Linked DNA regions of Homo sapiens: all the other regions are linked to region 4. Evidence: promoter capture Hi-C in 16 types of primary human blood cells and fetal thymus (Javierre and others, 2016). All regions are on one chromosome and are shown on one strand. Each heading gives the region's core, a stretch centred on a gene start or on the middle of the fragment in contact. The rest is flanking DNA. Distances are from core to core; before and after follow the strand shown.

Region 1 (3,483 bases), core at 607-3,106, 1.2 Mb after region 4:
TCGTCATTCGTGCAAGCCAAATCCAGATCCGGATCCCTCCTCCCAGCTCCAAGCCTGCTGATGTTCAACCACCCTACAAGGAGCCCCCCAAGCTTTCTCCCAGCCTAGAGGCTGGACACCAGCGGGGCTCTCAGGGTTCATGATGTGTGGAAAAGGTAAGGGAAAAAAATCGACAACTAAAAGCCATTAGACGAAAATTCCAAATAGAATGTAGCCGGATAAGCAGTCCCAACCCACCTGGGAGTCTGAAAGGGAGGGCCCTGTAGGAAGGTGATGGTCATAACCCTTCGCTGGGTTGATTTGTTACTGAGTTGCTGGGAGAAATCCAGGATAAAGGGTGGTAAAGCAGTGCATGCTCTTGCACCGGGAGAAAAAGGGCACAGGTTAGTGTAGGGGACCTGAGAACAGGGCAGAGCTCAATCACTGTGTGTGTGAGCTTCATCTCAGACCAGGTGTAACAGGAACAGCCCCGTCCACCATCACGTGCCTTGTAAGATTCAGAAAAGAGCATCTCCTCAGTGGTTCTCAAGCCTGGTTGCCCACTGAAGTCATCTGGGAGCTTTAGAACAATTCTGATCCCTGGGCCCACCTGGAGACTGATTCGATTGGTCAGGGGCCTGGCTGCAGCAGCCGAGTGTTAAAAGCCCCTGGTGAGTCTCATGTGCAGCCTAGCTTAAGAACCATGTCTGCTCTAGACGCAGTATCAGCCCAGGCTGCACTTGAGAATCCGCCCACCCCCAACTCCCGGGGGAGCTTTCAGAAATACCAGTGCACAGGCCTGCCCCAGCCCACTTCAGCCAGAGGCTCTGAGATGGAGCCCCCGCCAGGTAGGATAGACGTGCCACACGGCTGAGAAAGTTGGTGTAGGAGGATCAGCGGGCCTCTCCCTTCCCTGCAGTGCCATGCGGCGGTGTTCACAGCTCGCCGCCCCCTCCCCCTCCGTCCCACTTACTCCAGAGCCAGGCCCCATCCTGATCTGCGGATCTGCCGCACAGGTTCAGGTTGCCCCCTCTGTAACTTACAGCCGACCCTCCAGACTCAGCCTCACCTCCCCTTTAGTAAGCCAACAATGGACTCACATACAAAATGCAATGTGGTGTGGGGCCTACAGCTCTCCCCCTTGTGCCACCAACTGGTGTGTATAGGCTGTCCCTCAATAGCTCTTGCTGTGAAATTTGCAGCCTATTTAACGGCTGTGCATGTGTGTGTGCATGTGTTGGGGTGGTGAGTGCAGGAGTTGGGTGGGAATCAGAGGTGAGCTAGGGTCCCCAATCCACACTCCAGGCACCTTGAATCCACCCATGGTCAGTCTTCCTGCACTGTTGAGGAAGGTTTGTAATAATTTTTGCTAATACCCCATCCCCTCTCCCCACCCCCAGATTCCACTTGCCCATCCTGCCCCCTACACTCAGCACCAGCCAAGCGCCTGGCTCCCAGGAGTTTCCCAGTAAGCATTTTCTGAGTGACTGAACCATTCTTCTCTGCAGCCAGACCTGAGTCCAACCTGAGCCACCCTTTGCTGCCCTCTCCAACCTAGGGGAGGTTGTGGCTGTGCTCAGCAGGGCCTCAATAAGGAACTGGGCATGGATTTTGCAGGGGGCTTTGGTGAAGAAAGTTCTACCTATAGGTATTAAAGATAGAGATTAAGGGAATGAGCCACTCATCATTCCAGGGACATGCTGCTGTCTCGCTGAGCAGGGATGAGAATTTATTGGTCTCCTTGGCACAGAGTGGCTGGCCACAACCTGGCTGGGAACACTGAACTGAGGGATCCCACCACGGTAATAGGGCCCACGCTGCCCTTCTGGCAGGGCATCACTCAGAAGAATTTTTCCAGCCCGAAGGATCTGTCCGTTCAGGGTCTAGCCAAAATCATAGAGCTTGCCTTAGTTTCAAAAGCAACCAGGTCAGAGGTGGAGGCTATTCTCTTTGAACCTTTGGAGGCCGTTGATGTGGTGTTTGAAGTGCCCACGCTGGCCGCCAGCCTGAGTTCCTTAGACACAGGCAGCCTGCGCAGACGACAAGGCTCGGGCCCCTGACGGAGGCCCCCAGTGCCGCCCGCTGGTGTGCTGGCCTCGTGACGCCCTCACCAAGCTAGCAGTGGCTTTTAACAGCCAACCTCAATTTCCAGTTCCCTTGCACATTTTGCTTTCTCCCACTCATAGGTACAGGAAGTCTGATCGGGAGCGGGGCCAGCGTCAGGGACCTTGGTGAGGAATAGCAGCAGGTTGCCCTGGTTACGGTCTGACCCAAGGATGTGAGGAGGACCGGGCCAGGCTCCCACCTGAGCCCCTACTCAGGGCACCTCCTCATGCCCGAAGCCAGCTAATGTCACCCAAATTGGAGCACTCAGGACCAAGGCCTAAACATTCCTTTTTCCCCTGGAGCACAGGGATGGCTCATGTGGCTTAATTATACTGTTCAAAAGGGAGTGAGCTGAGAGAGGAAACTGCAGCAGATAGACCTATACCTGGTAATCAAATGTAATCAGTTTCCAATGTAGGAAGATTTCAGGCATTTACCCAGGTGCTTGGGGGAGGGGACACAACAATTTGTGGTCTTCCTTCTCTTTCCCCTTATTTTTCTGATTCAGAAACCAGTCATCACAGAATCTATGGGGACTGGGTGCTTGCTCAGGAAGGATAAGGTGGGAGAGGGAGAATTCATTTTGAAAATTATAGTCATGCCTGAGACAGGGCAGCTTCGGTGACTTCCAAGCAGCAGCTCCTTAGCAGCGAAGCCCAAAATCCCTCCTGAGTTTCCGGCCTGTGTTGTGGCCTGAGGGCAGCAGCCACATCTCTCCACTAGGTGCATTTTAACATGTTAAAAGGAAATATGTTAAAAGGATGGCTCTGAGTAGCCACTGAAATTAATTGCACAATTAGGCTTGTATAAAATCTTTTTTATGCAGTAAGGGATGGGACCGTGTAGATTTCCATTACAGAAAGAATTGTCCCTGTGATTCACAAAAGCATGATGGGAGCACTTCACAGCCAAGATGTCGGCCTGGTGATCTGACAACGTGGCCTTTTGGAATTTTGAAATTCCAATTATCTCTTTTAAATATTCTGAAAATAAAAGTATCAAATCCTGAAATAATAAATACTAGAATATGAATCAGAAATCTAATTTTGCCCAGGGCAAGAAATAATTTTTTCCAGTTAAAAAGTTAAAAAAATACTTCTACCTTTATTGGCATTGTGTGTGGAAAAAGTGGTCTATTTAAGGGAAATACAGGCTAGTAAAATATTTGTTATTTGCACTAGGAGATAATTTAAGGAACACCTTCTCAAATGTCATCAGACTTACTTTAAAGGCAAACCAAGTCCAAAAGTTCTAAATTGAGAAAGCTGGAAGGGAAACTTAAATATGATCCAACCCCCTGTTTTATGACCAGAGGGGAATGGATTGGCCAAGATGTCGGGGATGGTTAATAGGACCTCAGGCTCCTGGTCAGTGTGGGGCACTCAGACCCATGAGTCT
Region 2 (3,117 bases), core at 408-2,907, 1.2 Mb after region 4:
AGACTTTTGGAGACTGGTCCTGGATTATCACTGCACATCCGTAGTTATGCTAAATGATGTGGATCCTGCCCAGGTGAGACCCGGACTTCTTACAGTCAGAACTAGTGCCAGGGGGTCAAGTTTGTTTTTACACTGAGTTTGTTTGCACCCGAGAAGTGCAGGCCCTAGTGCCAGATCTCAAGTGCCAGTTGAAGTTGAGAACTGGGGATGCTGAACACAACGGTTAAAAATCAGGCGGAATTAGGGGTTAGAAAGTCAGTTGAAACCAGAAATACAGGCTGAAATCATAGATGGTTGAGGTGACAGGGCAAGACACGGCCAGAAGTTGAGCTGTTCCTAAAAGATGGAAATACTCACTGGAGGTTGACAAGGTCGCAGACCGAGTTGGAGCTCAGCAGGAACCTGAACATCGCAGAGCCAAAGCAGAATGAGCAAACCAGAGGACAGTGGAGAAGGGAAGATAGCGTTTGACCCAGCCCAGATCCCATTCCTGGAGTGACTGTGTGCTTCCTGGCACAGCTCACCGGGAGCCTACAGGTAGAGATCGTCATGCAGGGCAGGTAGAGATTGTCATGCAGGGTGACAGTGTCGGGGTGACAGCAGAGACAGGCAAGCAATTTTAAGGCACAGCAATTAGTTTTCTCAATGCTTTAGTAAAGATATTAAAAAGAAATAATACTGGGACTTGGAGATAAGAGAAGTTTGGAATGATAAATGGGGCTTTTGCATAGTTACTCTTAAACATTAAAGAGAAAGAATTGGACAGTGATGACTCAATGTTAGTAATGGAGTTAGACACATTTTCTTGAAGCAGGTTGTCAGGCAAGCATTAGCACAGTGGTCCTTTAGGAGATGAATTTATTGCTTTGGGATGTGCCTATACCAATCATAGACAACCACCATGACAGTAGGCATTATGGGAAGTTTGACCTTAGCGTGTTTTAAGAAAAAACTTGTTCTGGAAATGAATTAATTTCCTGTCCAGTAGACACAAATTCTTTTTCTTAAAAAAAAAAAAAAAAAAAGTCTGAAGCATTTCGGCATCCCAACTGGACATGATGGCAAGATTTTTCCTTCCTACAATCTGTTTTCTTGCCATCATCCAGCCATAAATGGCATGGACATTCAATTCAGTTCTATAAGGTTTTTAATTATGTCTGAGGCACTGCATTATATTGTCAAAGCTCTTGCCTGAAAGCTGGTTAATGAAATAGTAATGATAATCTTTGTTCTTATCCAGTCCTTTTGGCTTAAGAAGCTTAAATATTTTAAAACTCTTCCCCACTGATGCTCTGAGAAGGTTAGCTTACAGTCATTTATAAAGACAAGCAGACACCACGGCTTGTGAAGCTTCAAAGACCCAACTCAAAATAGAACCAAGGGTCCTGATTTTCTCACTTACAGTGGCACGGCCGAAATTTCACTAATTCTAGAGTCTTAAGTTGCAGACACTTATAGAATAAGGGACTTCTTCCTTATTTAGAATCATGATGGTTTTTTTCTTAATGTGAATCCTGAAATGTGGAGATATTTTTGTTCATATTAGTGAACAAGACATCAGTGATTCTAGTGCATTCTTTTTGAAAAACTGCATTGGAATTCTAAAGCCGCATTCTAAACCCGAACTATCTGGACTCAAACCAAGCCTTGGCTGGCTCATGGGTAGGAGAGACAAAAAGACTCCAGTTCTATTCAGCAGACAGAGCTGATTTTCAGAGTGAGAGAAAAGAGGCTCCTGGGATTCAGTCTTTTAGCGAACACTAAACTGAGCATTTGAATGTAAAGGCTTTGCAATTCTACAAGAATAGCACTCAACTATTTTAAGTATTTATAGGTCCGGTTCACGGACGTGTTATGCACCATTTAAGCCATTTTCTACATGGTTTACTTGGGCAGAGCATAGAATGCAATGTGCCAAGAGGCAAGTGCAACCCACGTCACTCATATTTCTTTGGTGTAAGTGGCAAGCTTTTGGTCAGGAGCTTGAACTGAGAAAGCAAGCAGAAAGCAGAGTAAGCTCAGGCAGTAGAAAAATGGGCAGAACGGTTCAGATGTACATGTTACAGCTTTTATTAACATCTCGGCTTCCCATCATAATGCCTATTAATTTCAACAGTGGGTACACTTTGGGCATCAAAAAGAACATAAACATCACATGCTATTATTTGACAAGGCAGTTTTATAACTTGTCACCAGGAAGTGCTGGTGAGGAAGGAAATATTTCACGGAAGCATTATTTAAAAATAAATAAATGTAATTTTTAAAATACTGTCAGCATAGCTAACATAAAAGGCACCCTTGGTTACCCTACTTTCATTCTTACTTATAAAATCCCAACCTTAACTGTTCTGTGATGGAGAGAGAGATACTGCTGTTTTGATTGGCCCACTGCTAACTGAAAACTATCCTGCAATCTTGGGTATAAATCAACCTTAGCAACCTTTGACAATGAGATTTTAGATCCTTTGGAAAACAGAAGTCATCTAGAAATTCAGCCAGTGGATCCTCCTTTCCTGACACATCATTCTGCATAAAATTAGGTGATTGTCTTCCTCTGCTCTTGGCCCAGGATAGAAACAGGTTGTATAATAAAGTAGTTCTCCCCTTGCCTTTCCATAGGCCACCTGTCCCTCAGCTAAATCAGAAAGATAAAAGTTAGATGCGGCCAGGCGCAGTGGCTCACACCAGTAATCCCAGCACTTTGGGAGGCCGAGGCGGGTGGATCATGAGGTCAAGAGATCGAGACCATCCTGGCCAACATGGTGAAACCCCCTCTCCACTAAAAATACAAAAATTAGCCGGGCGTGGTGGCGCATGCCTGTAGTCCCTACTACTCAGGAGGCCAAGGCAAAAGAATCGCTTGAACCCGGGGGGCGGAGTTTGTGGTGAGCCGAGATCACACCACTGCACTCCAACCTGGCGACAGAACGAGCTTCTGCCTCAAAAAAAAAAAAAAAAAAAAAAAAAAAAAAAAAAGGTAGATGCTACTCAAAAAAAAGTTATAGGAATAAGAAGTCCCAAAGGAAGAGTAATTTCAAACTTTAAATGCCTGTTAAGGTTTCGGGGCTTTGAGAAGGGTTTTTGAAGAAAAAAATCTTAGCAGTTCTTCCTTCCTGA
Region 3 (3,443 bases), core at 764-3,263, 1.2 Mb after region 4:
CTTCCCGCCCTGGCCCTGCCACCTTGGAGGGGCTAGAAGGTGGCCCCCAGCTCCGTGGTGAGCTTGCCTGCTGCGATAGACTCATCACAGCAGCACACTCGGTGTGCACCCAGTTGTGACAACATAGGTGGTATGACTTGAAATCCAGTTCCTCAGAGCGGGGGGAGCAAACTGGGGTTGGGGGGCTCTGAGTGGGGAAGGCGCTTTGGCTGGCAGAGCCGAGCAGAGCTAACTGTGAAGGACGGGTTGCCAATATAAATTCTTCCATCAACAAGCAGAAAACGTGCTTATGACTTTATCATTGTACCCAGGGCTCTGCTACAATTCATATCTTCCTCATGGTTAATGGCGTTTTAGCCCACTGATGCCACATAATACATTTCATCAATTCTAGGGGGAGGCTGCTGCCCAGAACATCAAAGCCAATTTGTAAATTATGGAGTGATGGATTTTGTCAGTAAATTCATATCAGAACAAGGCAATAACGTTCCCACACAAATTAATGTATCTTAGCAGATGTTTAACTTTGAATATCCTGTTTTGAATATATATTACCTGATAATGTATATACACAAAGCATTTTTTATTTCCACTCATTAAATCTCAATCAAACAAGTAATCGCCCTAAACTACAGAGGCACAGAAATCCGTTTTCCCTGCCCATCAAATAGTAGCAATTTATTGTGGTGTAAAATAAATGAACTGCTAATACAATTTTTTAAAAACAGCAATAATAAAGCTAAAGGGCCGTGCCCCTGAGGGAGGATTGCCATGGTACGCAGGGGCGCAGAGCCAGTGACCAGGTTTGAATTCTAGCTCTGCCGCTGACTGAGCGACCTCAGCCAGGTAGCTCCCTCCCTGAGCCTCTGTTTCCCCTCTGCTGAAGGAGATGAGCATCATCTACTTCATAGGGTTGTGGAGGGACTTAAATGGATTAATTTGTGTGAAGCGTTTAGAGCCCTGCCTGGCATTATGTACCTGCTCATATTATTATACCCTAAATGACATACGAGAAAGGTGGAAGCAGGACTATGCTTCTCCTTCAGGGGAGAGCCTGGGCGTCAGGAGCAATGCCAACCCCTGCATCCAGCTGGCTCCTCCCTAATGTGACTCCTGGAAAAAGAGAGCCTTGATTTCCCGAGGTGCAGGTGCAGATAAGCATTTTCGTCTCCTCCTGGTACAGCTGAGCCCAGACCCACCTTACAGGTTCTCTCTGAAGTGCCAATTTCTGGCTCACCTGTCCCCTGCCTCGGGAGGTCACCAGGGCAGGGGGCTTGATGGAAGCTCCCAGTGATATGGGAGCGGGGCAGGGAAGTGCTAGGTAGAGAAAGGCGGGGTCCCTGATGAAGGCTCCACCCTCTGGCCTGTGCCCATGGACCTAGGTGTGGACAGGTACTTCTGTTTTCATGCCCAAATGTTGCATTTTCCAAGACCACCCTGACACACCATGCCCCCCAACTTGTGCCTGTAAAACCCCAAGACCCTAGCGGGCACACACATGAGCGGCTGGACGTTGAGAGGAACACACCGACAGAAGAACACACTGGCAGACTCCAGCAAGCCATTGACAGCAGAACCATGCGGATGGCGTGGAATTCGGCCGGGGAATGTCGGAGGAGAGTCTGGCTGCTGAATGGCCTGAATCCAGGGGAAAACCACCTTCCCACTCCATCTCCCTTCTGGCTCCCATCCATCTGCTGAGGGCTACTTCCACCACTCAATAAAACCTTGCACTCACTCTCCAAGCCCATGTGTCATCTGATTTTCTGGTACGCTAAGGCAAGAACCCCAGGATACAGAAAGCCCTCTCTCCTTGTGATAAGGCAGAGGGTCTAACTGAGCTGATTAACACAAGCCACCTGTGAACCGCTAAGCTGAAAAAGTGCACTGTAACACACGCCCACTGGGGCTTCGGGAGCTGTAAACACTCAACCCTAGACGCTGCCATAGGGTCAGAGCCCATGCTCCCCACGACCTGCCTGTCTGCATGCCCCCTCTAGGGGTTCGAGCTGCGGGACATGGAAGAAGTGAGCCACGCCTTCATCACATGCCCAAACTCCTCCTGTTTCACCAGGCAGGACAGAAGATGCAAACCCGGTGTGCAGATGTCCTCAGTCAGCAGGCGGCAAGCGGCACGACGCTGCACACCTGTCCTCCCTTTTCCAGGGCCCTTGCTCACAGCTGTCTGGGTTTCCCGTCTCTTTATTCTTCCCTTCCTCATCTCCTGTCTTTTCTCATTCCATCCACTCATCTGATACATCGTAGATGCTTTTCTGTCCTTGTTGCCATTTCTGACATTGATTTCTTTTCTTTTGCTCACTTGGTTACTTTTCTCTCACTTGATTACTTTTCTCTCACTTGATTTGTCTTTTTGACTTCTGATGACCTTCCCTGGGAAGCTCACTTCAAGAGCCTGGTCTCCCCCTCCAACCTCCCTTAGAGGTGGACCGTTTTAGACAAGAGGGGTGGGCGAGAGGCCCTTCCAGGCCCACCTTTGCCTGCCTGCCACGTGCCAGGCACCGTGTTGAGTGCTTGCCTGCAGAGCACCTGGAATCCCACACGCCACCCCACATAACAATAACAGTCACAGACACCTTTTGAGTGTGTGCTTGCTGTGTGCTACGTGTCTGATTCTTCGCTTGCCTTCACTATTGAGTCCTCACGAACCATATACCTAGGTACTATTGTTATTCTATCCTTATAGATGAGGAAACCGAGACACAGAAAGGCTAGGTAGCATGCCAGCATGTCATCGACAGCAGGTGACGGCAGAATTCAGACTCAGGCAGTGCACTCTCAGCCCCCTACACTAAATGGTAAGGTTATTCCTCTTGATTTTTCCTTGATTGGGAACTGAAGTTCAGGGAGAATGAGTGACTTACCTGAGGTCACAGAGCTTAGCTTACCCAAGGCCGAGCTAAGGGCAACATCTTTGCATTCAACTGATGTTCTCCTTACATGCGAGTCTGTGTCCAAATTTCCCCTTTTATGTGGACACTAGTCATACTGGATTAGGGGCCACCCAATGGCTTCATTTTAGCTTAGTAGAGACCCTATCTCCAAATAAGGTGACATTTTTGGGGAGACACAATTCAACCCTTACCACAAGGGCAGTGCCTGGATGCAGCAGCCTCAGGAGTGATGATGCAGCCACAGCCTCCCATTAACAGTCCCAGGTCTACATTGTTTCAGTACAAACAGGTTCCAAGGCCACCATGTGGTGAGTGATGACAGTGTTACTGCTTTTGTCTCATGGAGATATGAGCTTAGCCAGCAATGGCGCACTTGACAATAAAGAACATGGAGAGATGCTGCCTGGACACCTCGGAGAACTTTCTTGTGTGCTGATGACAATAAATACATAGGTAAGTAGGCCTTCTCTCATCATCCCAGATCTTCATTAGCCAACCACTAGACCTCACACGGACCCACGAATTTTTAAA
Region 4 (3,202 bases), core at 456-2,955:
AAAAATCTCACCCTTCCAGGCCAAACCAGCCCTTGCCACGGGCCACAAGCCCTTTGCTCAGAACCTAGGTCAGCTCCTTGATATCCCTTGTCCCCTTAATCACTACCTATTTTTAGGATTTTTCACCTATGCAGATGTGTGTCCGCCTCCTCCCCAACTATATTAGTTTGCCAGACCTGCTCTAAGAAACTGGGTGGCTTAACCAACAGAAATGTATTTTTCTCACAATTCTGGAGACTGGAAGCCTGAGATCAAGGTGTTGGTTTCTTCTGAGGCCTCTCTCCTTGGCTCGCAGGTGGCTGCCTTCTCCCTGTGTCTTCACTTGGCCTGATTGCCAAACCCAGCGCCTTCTGAGATACTGGGGGTTACAATTTCAGCATACGAAATTTGAGGGCAGGGTGAGGGGACACAGTTCAGCCCATAACACCAACAATTAACTCTGCAAACTTAAGATGTAAGTTAACTTTTTTAATTCAAGAAAAAGACAGGGAGGCCGAGGCAGGTCCACCCGCCTTGATCAGGAGGTCAAGACCATCCTGGCAAACATGGTGAAACCCCGTCTCTACTAAAAATACAAAAATTAGCTGGATATGGTGGTGGGTGCCTGTAATCCCAGCTGCTTGGGAGGCTGAAGCAGGAGAATCACTTGAACCCGGGAGGCAGAGGTTCCAGTGAGCCGAGATCGTGCCACTGCACTCCAGCTTGGACGACAAGAGCAAAAACTCCATCAAAAATAAAAGAAAAATAAATAAATAAATAAATAAAAATAAATAAAAGACAGGGAGGAGAAGAGAGAGAGAGAGAAAGAGAACGGTGTGTAGCGAGGGGGGCCTCATCATATCCTTCCAGGACAATAGGTGGCCCGCGCTTACCATACTAAGGTGGCCACTCAAGTGACTGTTCAAACACTTAAAGTGCATCCTACTAAATACAGAAGGTCTCTGTAAGACACATGAGCCCAGAGCTTCTCTGGATGAAATGGGAGTGAGGGGTTGAGATCCCCCCACAACTCCCTTCTCACTAAATCACCTCTGACAAGCACAGGATAAAAACCTTTGACCTGGAAGATTCCAGGTATCCGGGCTGCTTTTGTTATCTTTTCACAAACGCACAGTTCATCAAGGTTTGGAACAGGGACCTATGATATCATCTGATGATCTTTAGCTTTGGAGACATAACTGTCACTAGCACCCAGCCCAGTTTCACTGTAAAGTTGTCTGGCTGAGCTCCCGCAATCCTGCCAACAGTCCGTACTTGTGTGGCCTGCTCTGTTTTTCCATTTTACTTCTTTTTAGAGATGGGCTTGTTAATCACCCTGCTCAACTGTGATACCCAAGAAAAGCTGAGAGAGTAAAGTTATATGCAGCCTTCCTGTGACCTGTTTGCATGTACCCAGTCAATAAAACTCAGGCAGAGTGACAGTGACAGCTGCCTTGTGGCATTCAGAGGGATTTGAGCAGTTTAGCAGCCTCCTGGACAAGTATATCATTACAGCCCAGCTGCTAAGAAAGAAAACACCTAAACCCTGGGGAACAGGCACAGCTCCTGCAGCCACCCAGGGACCTGTCTCAGATACCTGCAAGGCCTGATCAAGACTCTCCTGGCAGCTTTCTCCACACTAGGACCTCCTAGTCACAAGTTGGTTCTCACCCTGACGCACACTCCCTGCCTGCAACAGCCTGGCTTTTAGCAGCTGAGAGGACACGGTCCCTGCCTGGGAGGTGGCAGAGGAGAGTGACTAGAAGGGAAGGTACAATGGGGGCCAGGCAGTCAAGGGCCAGCTCCAAGGATAAGGGCCCCAAGAGGATGCTGTTCACGGGGAGGAGACAGAAGTTTTCTCCGTGGGACGATGCCCTGCTCTCGGGAAGGGACCCGCGGTCCCTGCTGAAGCGGGGCATGCACCACGTCAGCTTCAGCCTGGTCACGAGAGGAATGACAGACATCCCCGACTTTCTGTGGGGCTTGTCCGAGGTCCAGAAACTCAATCTGTCTCACAACCAGCTCCGGGTTCTCCCTCCCGAGGTGGGGAAACTGACCCGGATCGTGGTCCTGAACTTGTGCGGGAACCGCCTGAAGAGCCTGCCCAGAGAAGTGAGCCTCCTACAGTGCCTCAAGGTCCTGTTTGTCAACATGAACTGCCTGACAGAGGTGCCGGCCGAGCTGAGCTTGTGCCGAAAGCTGGAGGTCCTGAGCTTGTCGCACAACTGCCTGTCCCAGCTCCCTGCATGCTTCGCCGACCTCTCTAGACTGAGGAAGCTAAACCTCAGCAACAACTTCTTCGCGCACATCCCCATGTGTGTGTTCTCCCTGAAGGAACTGATTTTCTTGCACGTGGGCTCGAATCGCCTGGAAAACATCGCTGAGAGCATCCAGCACCTGGCCAGCCTGCAGATCTTCATCGCAGAGGGCAACAACATCCACTCCTTCCCGAGGTCGCTTTGCCTGGTCACCAGCCTGGAGCTGCTGAACCTCAACAACAATGACATCCAGACCCTCCCGAGCGAACTCCACCTGCTGTGTAGACTGGTGAGGATCGCCTGGAATCCCATGGACAAAGGGCTCCACATTTCCCACAACCCTTTATCCAAGCCTCTGCCGGAGCTGGTGGAGGGGGGCCTGGAGATGCTCTTCGGCTACCTGAAGGACAAAAAACACACCTGACCTGGGTCCCGGAGGCCTGGATGGGAGGCAGCTCATCTGGACTCTGTCAACCGGGGTACTTCTCTCGTCTCAGCTTTCTACTCTCATCCTTAGTGTCTGACAATACCTTTGTTAATATTTGCTAAGTCGCTGTTGAACATCCACGTTAAGGAGGTGATTGTTTTTAACTCTGTATGTTCTTAATAACCTCTGGAATATCATGTTCATCTCATCCTAAACATAAATTGAAACAGGGGGTTGGTTTTCCCCAAAGAGAACTAACAGTTCTGATTCTTCTGAGGAGCAGTGAGATTCAGCCCTTGGGAGAGTGGACACCTAACAGGTCTGAATTCAATGTAATTCAAAAGGCAAATATTTGCTAAGTACTGTGTGCCAAGTACAGTATGAGGTGCTGAAACCTGGTTTCAGATAGTTTCTGCCCTTGAATCAGCAACCTGTGGCCAGGTGGCAACGGCAAGACACGTTCCTCCATCAGCCTCTGTGAAACATTACTTGGGACCAAAAGGCAAACCACAGTGGGCTCTGTCCCCAGTGACCAAAA

The links. Contacts are between HindIII fragments. The CHiCAGO score rates a contact against its expected background, and 5 or more counts as called.
Region 1: a fragment that was not itself captured here is called in contact with the fragment with the promoter of LRRC30 in region 4 in 5 of 17 cell types (M0 macrophages, M1 macrophages, fetal thymus and 2 more); the score reaches 9.3 in M0 macrophages.
Region 2: a contact is called between a fragment that was not itself captured here and the fragment with the promoter of LRRC30 in region 4, in 3 of 17 cell types (M2 macrophages, M1 macrophages and M0 macrophages). The highest score is 8.1, in M2 macrophages.
Region 3: a fragment that was not itself captured here is called in contact with the fragment with the promoter of LRRC30 in region 4 in 1 of 17 cell types (fetal thymus); the score reaches 5.8 in fetal thymus.

The regions. Positions count from the first base shown.
Region 1 is chr18:8,399,677-8,403,159 of GRCh38, forward strand. All of the region lies in intron 32 of PTPRM (protein tyrosine phosphatase receptor type M), which reads left to right. It overlaps LOC124904241 (a long non-coding RNA gene), which reads left to right. Exons shown (of 2, transcript XR_007066275.1): 2 at 1-3,483. Among named protein-coding and RNA genes, the nearest start is that of RAB12, 210 kb to the right of the region's middle. RefSeq lists an enhancer at 1,548-2,078. The HindIII fragment of the contact is 3,533 bases long and covers 91-3,483 here.
Region 2 is chr18:8,380,355-8,383,471 of GRCh38, forward strand. It overlaps PTPRM (protein tyrosine phosphatase receptor type M), which reads left to right. Exons shown (of 33, transcript NM_001105244.2): 29 at 1-73. Among named protein-coding and RNA genes, the nearest start is that of RAB12, 230 kb to the right of the region's middle. The HindIII fragment of the contact is 618 bases long and covers 1,349-1,966 here.
Region 3 is chr18:8,433,618-8,437,060 of GRCh38, forward strand. No RefSeq gene overlaps it. Among named protein-coding and RNA genes, the nearest start is that of RAB12, 170 kb to the right of the region's middle. The HindIII fragment of the contact is 4,363 bases long and covers 1-3,443 here.
Region 4 is chr18:7,229,384-7,232,585 of GRCh38, forward strand. It overlaps LRRC30 (leucine rich repeat containing 30), which reads left to right and starts at 1,706. Exons shown (of 1, transcript NM_001105581.3): 1 at 1,706-2,661. The coding sequence starts at 1,756. The coding sequence ends at 2,661. The HindIII fragment of the contact is 6,496 bases long and covers 1-3,202 here.